Regions from separate parts of the Homo sapiens genome. Here region 1 is linked to region 2. The links are contacts of gene promoters, found by promoter capture Hi-C in blood cells and fetal thymus (Javierre and others, 2016). All regions are on one chromosome and are shown on one strand. Each heading gives the region's core, a stretch centred on a gene start or on the middle of the fragment in contact. The rest is flanking DNA. Distances are from core to core; before and after follow the strand shown.

Region 1 (6,601 bases), core at 978-3,477, 8.0 Mb after region 2:
CAAAACGTCATCAACTGCAACCCCCAGATAAATCCATTTTTAAAGAGGAAAATCAGGCACAAAATTAAGCATTGCTTGTTTTTAAATATAATTATACATCTTAAAAATACAAAGCATGGTTTCACCAAGTAGTTTACCACTGTATAATTCCCTGCCTCTGCTCATGTGCTCAGGTAATGAATTATAGATCAACGGTGTAAAATGATATGCTAAGAGCATGTTTAACTTGGAATGGCAGGCTATAGCACTAAAATATACACAGAAAACTAATAACGTAAAAATATGACCAATGTCTATGATAAGGATCACAGTAGATAGTGATTTGCCACTGGCAATGGGCCAATTTTAAGGGAAGCATATAGTGCTGTGGGAAGCAATGCAATTTAGGCACTAACGATAGTCCCGGATACAATCTACAGTGGACCTAGTCCAAAGGGAATTCCTTCACAAGTCCACCACCGGAATTTTGGCAACACCAAAGTGCTGTTTTGAATCCTCATGGCATACAGCTCATTGATTGAGCATTTCATTCATTTTCCATCTTATATGCTTACAAAACTGTGTTTAATATTAAATATAAATTCACAGATATAAACAATTATATGCAAATCTTTATTTAAAAAATAAAGCCACATTACATATAAGTAACTATATAAACTATTACCTAGTGGTTTCTTACTCTGAAGTTGGGCACACAGACTCTCTCTCTTTGAAATGGAGTCCTGCTGCATCTTTTTGTTTCATTATTATCCCAGCTACTTAACCTTTAACAAGAGCTATATAAAGTTCTGGCCTGTTTTTAAGTAATTTTGTGGCAAAAAATGAATTTTACCTGAGTGCTGAAATGTTTTGCCATAGGTGTTATGCGGAGTTCATATATTGTGAAATACTGACTATGTAGCCCTTCCAATAAGATATCCATTAAAACAGTGATGGATAGTAATCTATATACATACATATATAGACGGAGAGGAAGAGAGAATAGGCTCTAATTAAAGCATCAGATGATATAATTTGATTAGATTCTGAACATCTTTCACTTGTTTCAAGCATCCAGGGCTTACATGCTAACAAAACAACAAATCGCTTTTTTTTTTTTTTTTTTTTTTGAGAGGGAGTCTGACTCTGTCGCCCAGGCTGGAGTGCAGTGGCGCGATCTCGGCTCACTGCAACATTTGCCTCCCGGGTTCAAGCGATTCTCCTGCTTTAGCCTCCCGAGTAGCTGGGATTACAGGCGCATGCCACCACGCCCGGCTAATTTTTGTATTTTTAGTAGAGACAGGGTTTCACCATGTTGGCCAGGCTGGTCTCGAACTGCTTACTTCAGGCGATCCGCCAGCCTCGGCCTCCTAAAGTGCTGGGATTACAGGCGTGAGCCACCGCGCCCGCCCATAAATCACTTTTAATAATATCCTTTCGTACGAATAGCATTGTGCAAGCAATCTTCCATAACACCGAGTAAGCACAGGGGAGCATTTCTGCTAGTGCCTAGCAAGCCCCTGGAGAAGCGACACGTCATCTAATGGCCCACCAAAGGTGCTGCATCCCAGGCAAACGCCATTACAACCGACTACCCAGGTCCCCGGAAAGGCCTTCGTTTACTCCTAACGTGTTTTGCTGGGATGCACTGACCCAGCGTTCCATCTCGCGACGAAAGCCCAGAAGACAAAGGAGCCCGCCCGGCGGGAGAGGAGCGGGTGTTTGGACGTCCCCGCGTGTTCCTAAACACAGGGCTCGGGGACCCGAAGAGCGCACCGCAGCCCCCTGGAGCGTATATATCCGGGGTCTCAAGCTTCAGGACCAGGCCCGGGAGACTCCCTGGAATTCTGCCTTCGTAATTTTAGAATCTTTTTCTTAAAGTGACCCAGCCCCCAATCCGTCCTCCCCACAAAGGCTTAACTTTAGGCCTCAACGACCCTAGACCCACGCCGGACAATCCCTCTAATCCCTCTCTCCCGGCAAGAAACGGCCTCCTGCTAAGGACAAAGAACTGCGGCCTAGGGGCCAGTTACTACAGGCTGGTCAGGGCCGGCAGGGGCGGGCGCGGAGAACCCCCGGGAGCCCAATGCCTGTGCCCACGCGGGAGCGGGGCGGAGCCGGGCGGGAAGGGGGCGGACCCTGGAAGGGACAGGGGCGGAGTTGGGCCGGGACGGAGGCCCGCAGAGGAGCAGCGAGGGGGCGTAGCCGGAGCTACGGCACCAAGGCTCCGCCCCCACCCTGCCTGCCCCCTCGCTGGAGCAACGCAAGCAGGAGGCGGGGGAGTCGGAGGAGGTGGCGGCGCTGGAGCTCCTCCCGGGGACCAGCGACCCGGGGAGCGAGCACGTCGCTCCGCACCGCTCTTCCTCCAGCCGCTGAGCCGTCCCTTCTCGCCATGTCCCAGAGCAGGCACCGCGCCGAGGCCCCGCCGCTGGAGCGCGAGGACAGTGGGACCTTCAGGTCAGCGTGCGGGCAGTCAGGGCCCCAGGGCCGGGAGCGTTGGGCGGCAGGGCCGGGGCGCGGGGAGCCGGCCCTCCAGAGGCATTCTGGGTAAAGCCGTGCCCGGCGCCCACGCCTCCGCGGCTGTGGGTGCTCGGCCCCGCCCTCTCGGCGGCGAGGGTTGGGGTCTGCGGCCGGGCCCCGCCCCTCTCGTGGTCCCTGGCGGCGCGCGGGGCGGGCGGAGGTGACGCTCGGTCGGCGCGCCCGGGAAGGGATCGTCAGGTTTTCCCTGAGAGGCTGCGGCGCTGCTGCCAGCCCTGTTCTGTTGAGAATCTCTCCTACCCGCATTCAAGTGCTCTCTCTAAAGACCTCGCTCACCCCGCCTGCTCCTGCGGAGTGACTGCCGCAGCGGGGCCGGAAGACAGGTGCGCCCCAGCCTCGCCAGCTCTGGCCCTGGCCTCCGGGGAACTCGGCGCCTCCCTCGTCACCGTCGGTGGCGGTTAAAACTGGCCTCTACGCTTCTGCTTCAATCTCCAATTTGGCATGCAAAGCACACCTTTTTGTGGTTTTTGCAGTTTGGGGAAGATGATAACAGCTAAGCCAGGGAAAACACCGATTCAGGTATTACACGAATACGGCATGAAGACCAAGAACATCCCAGTTTATGAATGTGAAAGATCTGATGTGCAAATACACGTGCCCACTTTCACCTTCAGAGTAACCGTTGGTGACATAACCTGCACAGGTCTGTATACACAGTTAACCTGGATGACCGAGTGGGTTGGCAGTCAATACTTGGTGTTGCTTTTCAGTTCGGAAAAGTTCTCTTTTTGCCAGACAGCTGTGAGGAACAGGCTCTGAAACTGAGACCTCTCATCTCAGGTCGTTAGGGCTTTTCAGCTGCATCTGATTCTCTTCCTAATTTTCTCTTCCCCACATACCAAGGAAGCTTAGAAACTAAAAAGTTACCCAGCCGGATGGCTGGATCCTGCATGGCTCTTCTCATACCCTAGGATCCTCCTAGGGTTCTTCTTAGAATTAGAGGGAAGCAGGAAAGGTTCTTGGAGCAGTCATAGCTGGGTCAGTAGGTACTGTGAAGTTTCATAGATTATAGCGGATGCCAGGAGGCATGACCCCAGAATTTTCTGAGCGTCTCTCCTCTCTGTATGGACTCATTTGGCACTTTAGGTCCATTGTGCTACTTTTGATTCTGTATCCAAACAAAATGAGGAAGGGGAGAAGGTCCTCATATATTACATAATAACTTCTAGTTTTTGAAACTGAACAGATATTTTGTATATTATCCACTTTTTAAACAAGAAGAAACAGGTTCAGAGAGATTATAAGTAACATGCGTATAGCAATGAAGTCACAAAGCAATGAAATTTTAAAGTTCATGCTTTCTTTTGGTCTGTGAGCTTGAGCAAATGATAACTAAAGTTGCTCATTTGTAAATGTGGACATTATTTTTCTTATGTATCTATTTAATTGCAAACACAGAAAACATTGGATGCTAAATTTAATTTGGAAGAATGCCAAGAAAAAAATTTAGTAGGAAGGCTCAAGTTCTACCATCTGGAAAATCTGAAGACAGCATTTGTTTGTGTCCCTGGAAGTTTGGAGTCTTTTATTTTAATTGATGCCACTTTAAGAAAAGTTTAAAACTTTTTGTGTGAGGCAGTTAGATTGTAGGTGCTGGCCGGAAGGGTCCCCATGGGAACCATAGAGTCAACACTGCATTACTTACTTTAGCTAGTCTATTTCTAGATAGGAAGAATTCAAGAAAAGGGAGGGTTTTTCCCTCTCAATGTGTTTTAGACCCCAAATTAACAACCTATGGCAACCGTTCTGCCTACGCCCTCTTCTCACACTACCATGGCTTCCTGTGCAAGCTTATCTGCCTCCATGGCTTCTGATACTGTCTAAAGACTAATATTCTGAAATGTCTGTCTACATCCCAAGCCCAGTTACAGAATAGTGTATCAGTCTGTGCTTGCTGAGCATCTTTGCCTGGATGACACAGAGGCCCCTCAAGCCTCTCATTGTCCCAAACTGAATCCATCTTTTCCCTCAAACCCATTCTTCTTGCATTCCCTTTCTATGTAAAGGCTCCACAATCACCTAGTTCAGTAGAAATGTAGGCTTTTGTCTTCCTAACTACTTCCCGTCTTTCTCCCTCTTGTCCAGTCTGTTATTAAACTCTATCCATTGGCGTTTAATAATCCACTAACTATCCATTGAATCTGTCGGCTTCTCTCTTCTGGCCATTGCTACTGCCTAGGCCACCATCATCTCTCACTTGGATTGTAGCTGCAGTCTTGTAGCTACACGTTTACCTTCTAGTCTTGTGATGTCCTTTTGTCACATTACAACCAGTGTTCATTCTTTTTTTTTTGAGACAGGGTCTCACTCTGTCACCCAGGCTAGAGTGCAGTGGCATGATCTTGGCTCACTGCAACCTCCGCTACAGCCTGCACTTAGGCTTGTTGTAACATATCCCATTCCATACTTCAGGTGCCTATTAACAGACAAAAATCCCACACTACTCTGTTGGCTCTTGAGGGCAGGGACCCTGTATGCTATATCCCTAATACCTGTGTTAGCAGATAAATATATGGTTTCTGTGTCTTCTTACACTTGAGGGCCACACTTGAAGGCCACACTTGAAACTTATTCCATGAGGGTATGGGAGTTTGAACTTAAAAGGAAAAAGATGGAATTTATCATTTGCCATTGTGATTGCTTACTGAAATTAGACATCAGTCTTATCCCCAGTCCCAACTTAGCTACCCATGCAGAAGATACAGACCGTCCAGAAGATACATAACAAGCTGTCACCTTATTCCATAAAACTCTTTCCTGTTGTACCCAACACATAATCATGACTGCTCAGCCTAGCAAAGCAGTTTGATACGTTATAGGACAGGCTGTCAGAATAAAATTATGCACATTTTGCTATCAAACAATTCTGCTGTAAATGGTTCCTTTAAAAGAAACTTCTTGCTGCAGAAGAATTTCCCCTCCAGGAATAAAGGAAGAGTAAAATACTAATCTGCATTTCTTCAGAGGTGTGACACGGTCTACTTTATTACCATGTTATATAATAAACATATATAATGTAGAAATAAGGATTTTTATGCAGGTATGCATAGAATTATATAGAACTTTAAAAAGTTATTTTTTAAAATTTTTTCACATGGTGAATATTTTATTACAGTATATAACCATGTAGTATATAACATGTACATATTTTTATGTACAGTATATAACGTACATATTTTTATTACCTAGTATGTGTATGTAAAATCTATAGTGACTTTGTTTTGTGTATTGAAAACATCTTTGTAAGCTGCACATTTTTGTGGGAGATAAAGACTTCTTTTTTTAAATCTTAATTCAGGTGAAGGTACAAGTAAGAAGCTGGCGAAACATAGAGCTGCAGAGGCTGCCATAAACATTTTGAAAGCCAATGCAAGTATTTGGTGAGCTAAATTTCTTTGTATTCAGCAGCTCAAAAATATCATGGCTGAGGTAAGATTAAAAATTTGAACATGCTTACAAAAGCAACAAAGTGAACAGTTGTTAGCATCCTACCTCTCAAATTCTATTTCCTTATGAAAACTTATCATCCATTAAAGAAAACTTTATCCAATCAAATCCAGCAATTAGCTATTAAATGAAGGTGCTCATGAACTAGGCTTTACTGTTTTTTTTTTTTTAATGGGATACAACAGTAGAAAATCAGTGCTTCTTGCAAATATTAATATTAACATTTTGTATTTAGACTTTGATTATTTCTACATTGAAGAAAACAAAGTGTGAGATGGAGAAAGATCCACTAAAAGTACTCTTTTGGGAATTCTAATTTTGAAGAAGCAGGCAGAGGTTTTCTTTTATTATATAATGTATACCAAAAGAAGAGAATGTTAAGTGGGATATTAATTCTTGACATATCTTTCTAAAGTAAGATTTTTTTTTTTTTTTTTTTTTTTTTGAGACGGAGTCTCGCTCTGTCGCCCAGTCTGGAGTGCAGTGGCGGGATCTCGGCTCACTGCAAGCTCCGCCTCCCGGGTTCACGCCATTCTCCTGCCTCAGCCTCCCAAGTAGCTGGGACTACAGGCGCCCGCCACTACGCCCAGCTAATTTTTTGTATTTTTAGTAGAGACGGGGTTTCACCGTTTTAGCC
Region 2 (6,508 bases), core at 386-2,885:
TCCTACTAATTAAAAATAAAACAATTAGATATAGAGAAAGCTCTACAATGCATGAAGTATAATTTAAATTGTCTAAATTATTACATAACATTTAATTTCAATGGGAGTTTTACTTCGTATCAGGGTCCAATCTCGAGGAAAACGACATCCCTAAAATGTCCTTGGTTTTCATAAAAGTGAATGCCATCCGATCAGCAACCCCTGAAATTTACCTAAGTGCCACGAATCCAGATTGTTCAAATAAGGTAATAGAAAACACAGATGTGAAGGTAATATTTTGTTTTTAAGTGTCTGGCTATAGTACTTCATGACAGTTTTAAACTGTACAAATTGGCAATAAGAATACCAGTTCTCCTCCAAAGTTGGAACCTGGCCAAGTATAGCAAAATTCTTAAGCATTTTCTTAAATCCAATGAGCAGACTTTACACCTTATGCGGTAAAATGGTCATGGCTTTTTCTAATTATATCCAAAGTACAAGAGGTCCTATTTAATTATGAGGAGGATTAATAGCAGAAATCGAGGGAAGAAATACCTCGTTGGGGTCTGTATGGTATGTTTACGTAATGTCAAATATGGTTCATCTTTTAAGGAAACTCAATTCAGTTGTTGGAAAACAAGTGCACAACATGTAAGAACGTCAATAGCGTTCCTTGGCCATTAAAGGGCTACAGGCTCAATGTGTTAAACGAATATATATACACACACATATATACACATATACACACACATAGATGTATACATATATACACGCGCACACACACACATATATCTCAAACTGGGTTACGGGACTTCACACAATTAGTGACACTGAAACCTAATCTCTTTTAAGGCGTTATCCTATTTAATCCACTTCAGAATGTAAGTACCAAGCTCTGCGTTCAAGACCCTGGGTTGTGACGGAAAGTCCTTCCATTCTTTATGGGACTTTAAACATTTCAGAGGTGGATCGAAAAAGCCACCAAGTCGTAATTTGTTGGTTCAAAAGAACTAACAGTACCATCCCTGGGTGACGGGTAAAGAAATAACGAACACAAAGACTCGTCATGAGTCGGTCTTCCAGAAAGACGCTGGCCCGAGACCGTTCAGCGTATTTCTTCACACATAACCTTGGAAAATCTCCTCAATTCTGAGAGGACTAGCGAAGGATAAAACCCTGTGCCAGTCCCGAGGGGTCATTTCGCACCCGGGTGCATGGGTGGGTGAACACGGGCGTGTGGGCGGAGAGGCAAAGCCCAGGTGCGGGGGCGCCAGCAGCGTCACTATAGTAATGAGAGAGCTAGCGTCATCAGGGGCTGGAGAAGGGGCAGTGGGCCACACAGGCCTAAGGGAGGAACACGTGGCCCGAGGAAGCGAGCCGGCTCCCAGGGAAGCCCGGAGCGGGGAAGTGGCTTTCCGGAGGGCTCGCGGCGTGAGTGGGGGAGGGGTGGGTACTCACTTCGATAATCTTCTCCTTCTTTTTTTGCTCCGCCTTTTTGCTGCCCCCGGCCTGAGCCTGTTTCTTGGGGGGCATTGCGGAGACAGATGGCACCGGCCAGACTTACGCGCAGCTGAATACCGTCAGGGGTTCTGGCCCTGCGGCAGGACGAGGAGGAAGACCGGGGCCTCACTCGCCGCACCGCACGGAAAGCGAGTCGCTCATTGGCCCCGCAAACGCGGCCTTTGCGACAGGTCGATGTCGCAGAGCATAGTGGGTAGCGAGGAGCGGCTCCCGGAAGCGGAGCTGCGCGTGCGCGCCCACTGCGTCCCACTAGGAGGGGGCAGGGACGGGACGTGGGAAAATGACTACGCGTCACTCGTGATGTCGCGCATCCGATAGGCCCTTTTCAGATGGCAAAAGGCCTGAGGGTGAATCTGGGCGAGCTGGTTGAGTCCATGCGTTTGTGCTTCCTCTCAGTCCACTTTCGCTTACGATGGGGCGACTCTTGTCCATCGTCACCTCACCGGGAAACTTTTCCTGCCGGGCCAGTTAATGGTCCCCTGTACCATCCCCATCCTGAGTGACTACTAAGCAGCCGCAGCGACTCGGGGTTGCTCCGTGACCACGTTACTCAGTTAACCTTCTTGTTCCCTGGAGAGGCGGAGCTGAATGGCCCGTGAGTGTCGCGTGCTTCAGATTCCTGCGAAGGATTATTTAAAAAATGGAAAAAGTTAACTTTCATTTGCAGGGTCCCTTTCATTTGAAGAGCATCTGAGATGGCGTCCCAGATAAGGAGGCACTTGAACTCCTTAGAAGTACTGTATTAAGTTATTTTGAGACTTTAGGAGAGTGCCTAGGTGATTCCTAAAAATTCCTTTATAACGTGAAAGTAACCAAACTTAGTTAGAACTTAGTTTAAGTGCTTGGTAGCTCCAGAAATTCCTTGGCACATTACACACACTATTTCATTTAGTTATCACAACGACACTTAGGTGGGAGTTGTTACTGTTTTCGTTTTATAGATGAAGCAGAGAAAGGAAGAAAGATGCCCAAAGTTATATTAAGGACAGAGCCAGCAATTGTAATCTTGGCAGTCCGGCTTCAGCCTATATGCCTATTACCTAACATTACAAACTTAGATCCTGTTTGAAAAGGTACTTGAATGATGAATGGGACCCATTGATATTTGTACAAACGAAAATACTATTTTTTAAAAATGTACAATGCTTAGCTGTTATTTTTTAAAATGATTATTGTTTAAACTATTTCTGTTAAGAAGCATTGTGGAACCAAGAATCATCTTTATAGATAAAAGTTTTTTTATCTTTTTCATTAATTTGAATAGGGAGAAAACGATAAGCCCCCCTACTTAGTCAAATTGATTATTTGCTTAGTAATTTTCTACGTAAGATAATGTCAAGGAACCCCAAGTATGTTTTGTGTGTGTATGTGTGTGTGTAGAAGAAATGTGATAGCTACTAAAAAGAATTGTGTCGAGAATGGCAGGTGTATGTTGACACACTTTTTTTCATTTGGGCTCATATTGGCAGGTTAATGGGCTCCCCCCCTTTTACATATTTTCATCTTTATTTTTTGTAATTGTCATAGTTCTTGTCAGAGGATGGAGGGATGCAGCCAGCCCCCTCTTTACTCAGTATTATTATCCATTTGATTATTTGGGGATCGTCTCCTTTGAGACTTTGTTTGCATATGGAATGTAGTTGTCTTAACTTCCTACTTTTAGTGCCCCAAAGATGCCCTTTGGGCCTTTGATTTTGAGTAATTTTACTGATTATTATTATGAGGCAAATGAATTATAAGTAACAAATATGGGGAAGTTACAAAGAATCTAGAGTCTCATAATGTTATGATAATGGCTCCAGTTTCATGGTTCATAACTTCTTCTGTCTCCTGACCTTTGCTTTCGGTTTTTTCCTCTGAAGTGTAGCCCAGGTAGAGAACAAAGATCCTTTCTTGCCTCAAGTGGAAAATACACATTTCTGAATATAGTACATGCTCTTATAGCACTCTCCCTCGTACACTATTTCTTCATACATTTTAGAAATAAGGAAGTCCAACTCATTGAATTCACTACTTTTTGAAATAAGGTACATGGTTTTTCCTGGTCTCAAATAGCAAATGGTAGCAGGGCTGGGACTTTTATGTCTTCTACTGCTATTTTTATTGACCTTACAATTCAAACGAAACTTTCACAAAACAGTGCTTAGAAGGCATAGTCCAAGGGTTACAATTCATATACCCAAGAAAGCAGGGCTATAAACTTGAGCGTCAGGATGAGTGAAATACATTAGGAAGTTGTGGGAACAGTGTTAAACCTGAGGTAAATGCCCACCGTAAAAGAACTAAAAGAAAAACTGTCAAACCTGACTGCTTCGATTTGGTAGACAGGCTGTGAATTTACTGCCTTGGATATAGCCATTTGGATAACTTTACATTTATTGGAATGTATCAGATGTAATAGATTAAGGCAGTAGATTTTGTACTGAATAGAAATTATTGTTTGCTATCCAGCATTCTAATGTCCTTCTGTATAGGAAGGAAGCCCTATGTCTCAGGCTTTTAATCTCAAGAAAACAAGACAAAGACTCAAAGTGTAGGAATTTTTCAGGGCATTAGAGTGCATGTATGGTATTACCAGTCCAGTGGCGGCAGGCCAGTGTGGCAAGATCCATACAAGTCCTTACTTCATTCTTTGCTATTATTTCTTGCTTCTTTTATTTCCCAAGCCTGATTTTCCAGGCTTCCTATAGATTCTGTGAACAATATTTCCATAAACATATTTGAAGACATAGCTAGAAGGTGGCCATCTGCAAGCCAAGAGAGAAGCCTTGGAAGAAACCAAACATGCTGACACCTTGATCTCAGCCTACTAGCACCCAAAACTATGAGAAAATAAATTTCTGTTTTTTAAGCCACCCAGTCTGTGGTACTTTGTTATTGCAGCCCTAGTAAACTAAGACAGACTCTGATTGATAATAGACCAAACTGTGCTATGGGGTGGTGGGCAGAGACAAGACTACTAGTTTATCTAAGTAAATTTTTGTCATAAAGATAGGACTCATTTGGCCATATAAATTGCTGATCTGTTTTATGGGTTAAGGCAGTACATATTAGGAAGTATTTTGATTTAAATAGTGAATGCTTCAAAATTCTGACATATAGTCAGTCTCCTTTAAGACTTTTTTCCCTCTGAATTAAGATATTACAAAAGATTTGCTAGTGTTTCAGTAAAGCATATAAAATGTCTTTTACCTTGTCAGTTTGAATTTCAATACTGTAAACTTTCACTCCAGCCTACACTGATGTAAAATTTTCTTAAAGTAGGTGACTTAAGTGGGTGAATTCTCTGTTTCTATTTGAAATATTTCTTGGTACCATTATGATAATAGTTATTATGGCATTTGTCAAGAAACCAAGATGTACGATTTCCAAATATTTTTTGCCTCGTTGACACTTAAATCATTTCCAATGATTTAAATCAACCATGTCATTTCCCTAGTAATAGTTTTTTAATGGCTTCTTATGTCTTTCTAAAGGGAGTGTAAGGGATTCCACATCTTCCTCAGCCTATAACATCTGCTTTTTATCTTCTGTTATTTCAGTTCTTACTCCTCATTTTAGGCCAGCTTTTCCTATTCCCCACCTTCATATTCCCTCTCTACTCTTATGTGCCTTCGAACTTTTCATAGTCTTATGTGTATACCTCCCCCCTCCCAAAAAAAAACCTATCTACCTTCCATCTAGGTATCATAACTAGAAACTTTGGTGAGTCATCTTTGATTCTTTTTTCAACCTCCAAATCCAGTCAAGTCAATTCATAGTGATTCTATATCTTAAGGAACCTCTTTCAAATTATTTCCTTCCTACTTTACTATCCTATTTCAGGGCCACATTTTTACTTGGACTATTGCAACTGTTTCTCTTGATCTAATTTCTTCACAATGCATTACTCCAAAAGTAAATTTTCAAATGTATGAATTTGATAGTGTCACCCTATTTCATAACTTCTTTGAAGACCTCCCATATACATATATACAGGTTTTAATTTGCATTGATGATTATTCCATAGCTACAATAGTTAATTTTCTTGTAATAAGCGTAAACATTTTTCATACATTTATATAGTCTTAGAAGACAAAATCAAAACCCTGTAAGGAATTTTTTTTTCTTCTCGGTAAGTTTGTAAACTGAGACATGATATTTTATTGTTTTCCCATAACGCATTGCATATTTTCTTAAATATAGGTGCTTAATAAATGTATATTTTAGTGGTTCTCAAATTATGCTCATATGAAAGAGTTCAGTAGGTTGGACTAAGATGATCTACTAAATTGAATGATGATGTATTTCTAATTAACAGAAAAATATTTTTTTTCAATTTTAAGCTTTTTTCCCTCATAGTCATTCTTAAAAAATTAGTAGATTGCTAGCATTTTTCACCTAGCAGATTAAAAAAAAAAAGAAACAGTAATGGATCAAATATTTCATGTGACTGGAAAACCTATATATTCAAAATAATGTGGGGACATTTATGTAAAATATGGTCTTATGTTACAGTCTTTTTGGTGAAATTAAATTTATTAATATATTTTAAATTTTTCCATATAACACCACAAGTTCCAGGTATTTGCTACCTGAAAACATTTCAGAACCACTGTTTTAATGGATTGAATACCATCTCACCTTATAGCTGGATTTAGTGTCATTTATCCTTGAATCCTAAAACCTTTGAAGTGGGAAAGTTGTTCCTAAAAGAACTATCAAATTAGATTCTTCTTATGAAAGCTAATTTTCCATTTCTCTTTTATGACACACTGTATAAAAGGTCATGTTTTATAGTCAAAATATGTGGGTTAAATTTCTTCCCTTCCACTTATATAGGTGACTTTAGGCAAATTGTTGGACACTGGTAAGCTTTACTCTTCTTATATATAAAAGAGGAATAATACTGTTCCTAGCTCATAGGGCTATTGGAAGGACGAAATGATATAATGCATGTCAGTCACTTATTAGAGTACTTGGCACATGTAAACACATAATTAGTGGATACTACTATATAATTCAGGTC

Evidence for each region. The method cuts DNA at HindIII sites, captures the fragments that hold promoters and counts their contacts. A CHiCAGO score of 5 or more calls a contact.
Region 1: a contact is called between the fragment with the promoter of PRKRA here and the fragment with the promoter of ZC3H15 in region 2, in 2 of 17 cell types (total B cells and activated CD4 T cells). The highest score is 8.3, in total B cells.

Annotation. Positions count from the first base shown.
Region 1 is chr2:178,446,801-178,453,401 of GRCh38, reverse strand. It overlaps PRKRA (protein activator of interferon induced protein kinase EIF2AK2), which reads left to right and starts at 2,227. Exons shown (of 8, transcript NM_003690.5): 1 at 2,227-2,436; 2 at 2,991-3,160; 3 at 5,816-5,897. The coding sequence starts at 2,372. PJVK (pejvakin) reads right to left here and starts at 2,024. Exons shown (of 7, transcript NM_001042702.5): 1 at 1,633-2,024; 2 at 1-14. RefSeq lists a silencer at 1,955-2,734 and an enhancer at 2,497-3,071. The HindIII fragment of the contact is 1,572 bases long and covers 1,795-3,366 here.
Region 2 is chr2:186,481,387-186,487,894 of GRCh38, reverse strand. ZC3H15 (zinc finger CCCH-type containing 15) reads right to left here and starts at 1,635. Exons shown (of 10, transcript NM_018471.3): 1 at 1,438-1,635. The coding sequence starts at 1,512. It overlaps LOC105373785 (a long non-coding RNA gene), which reads left to right and starts at 1,895. Exons shown (of 2, transcript XR_001739147.3): 1 at 1,895-2,095. RefSeq lists an enhancer at 1,526-2,005. The HindIII fragment of the contact is 12,604 bases long and covers 1-5,827 here.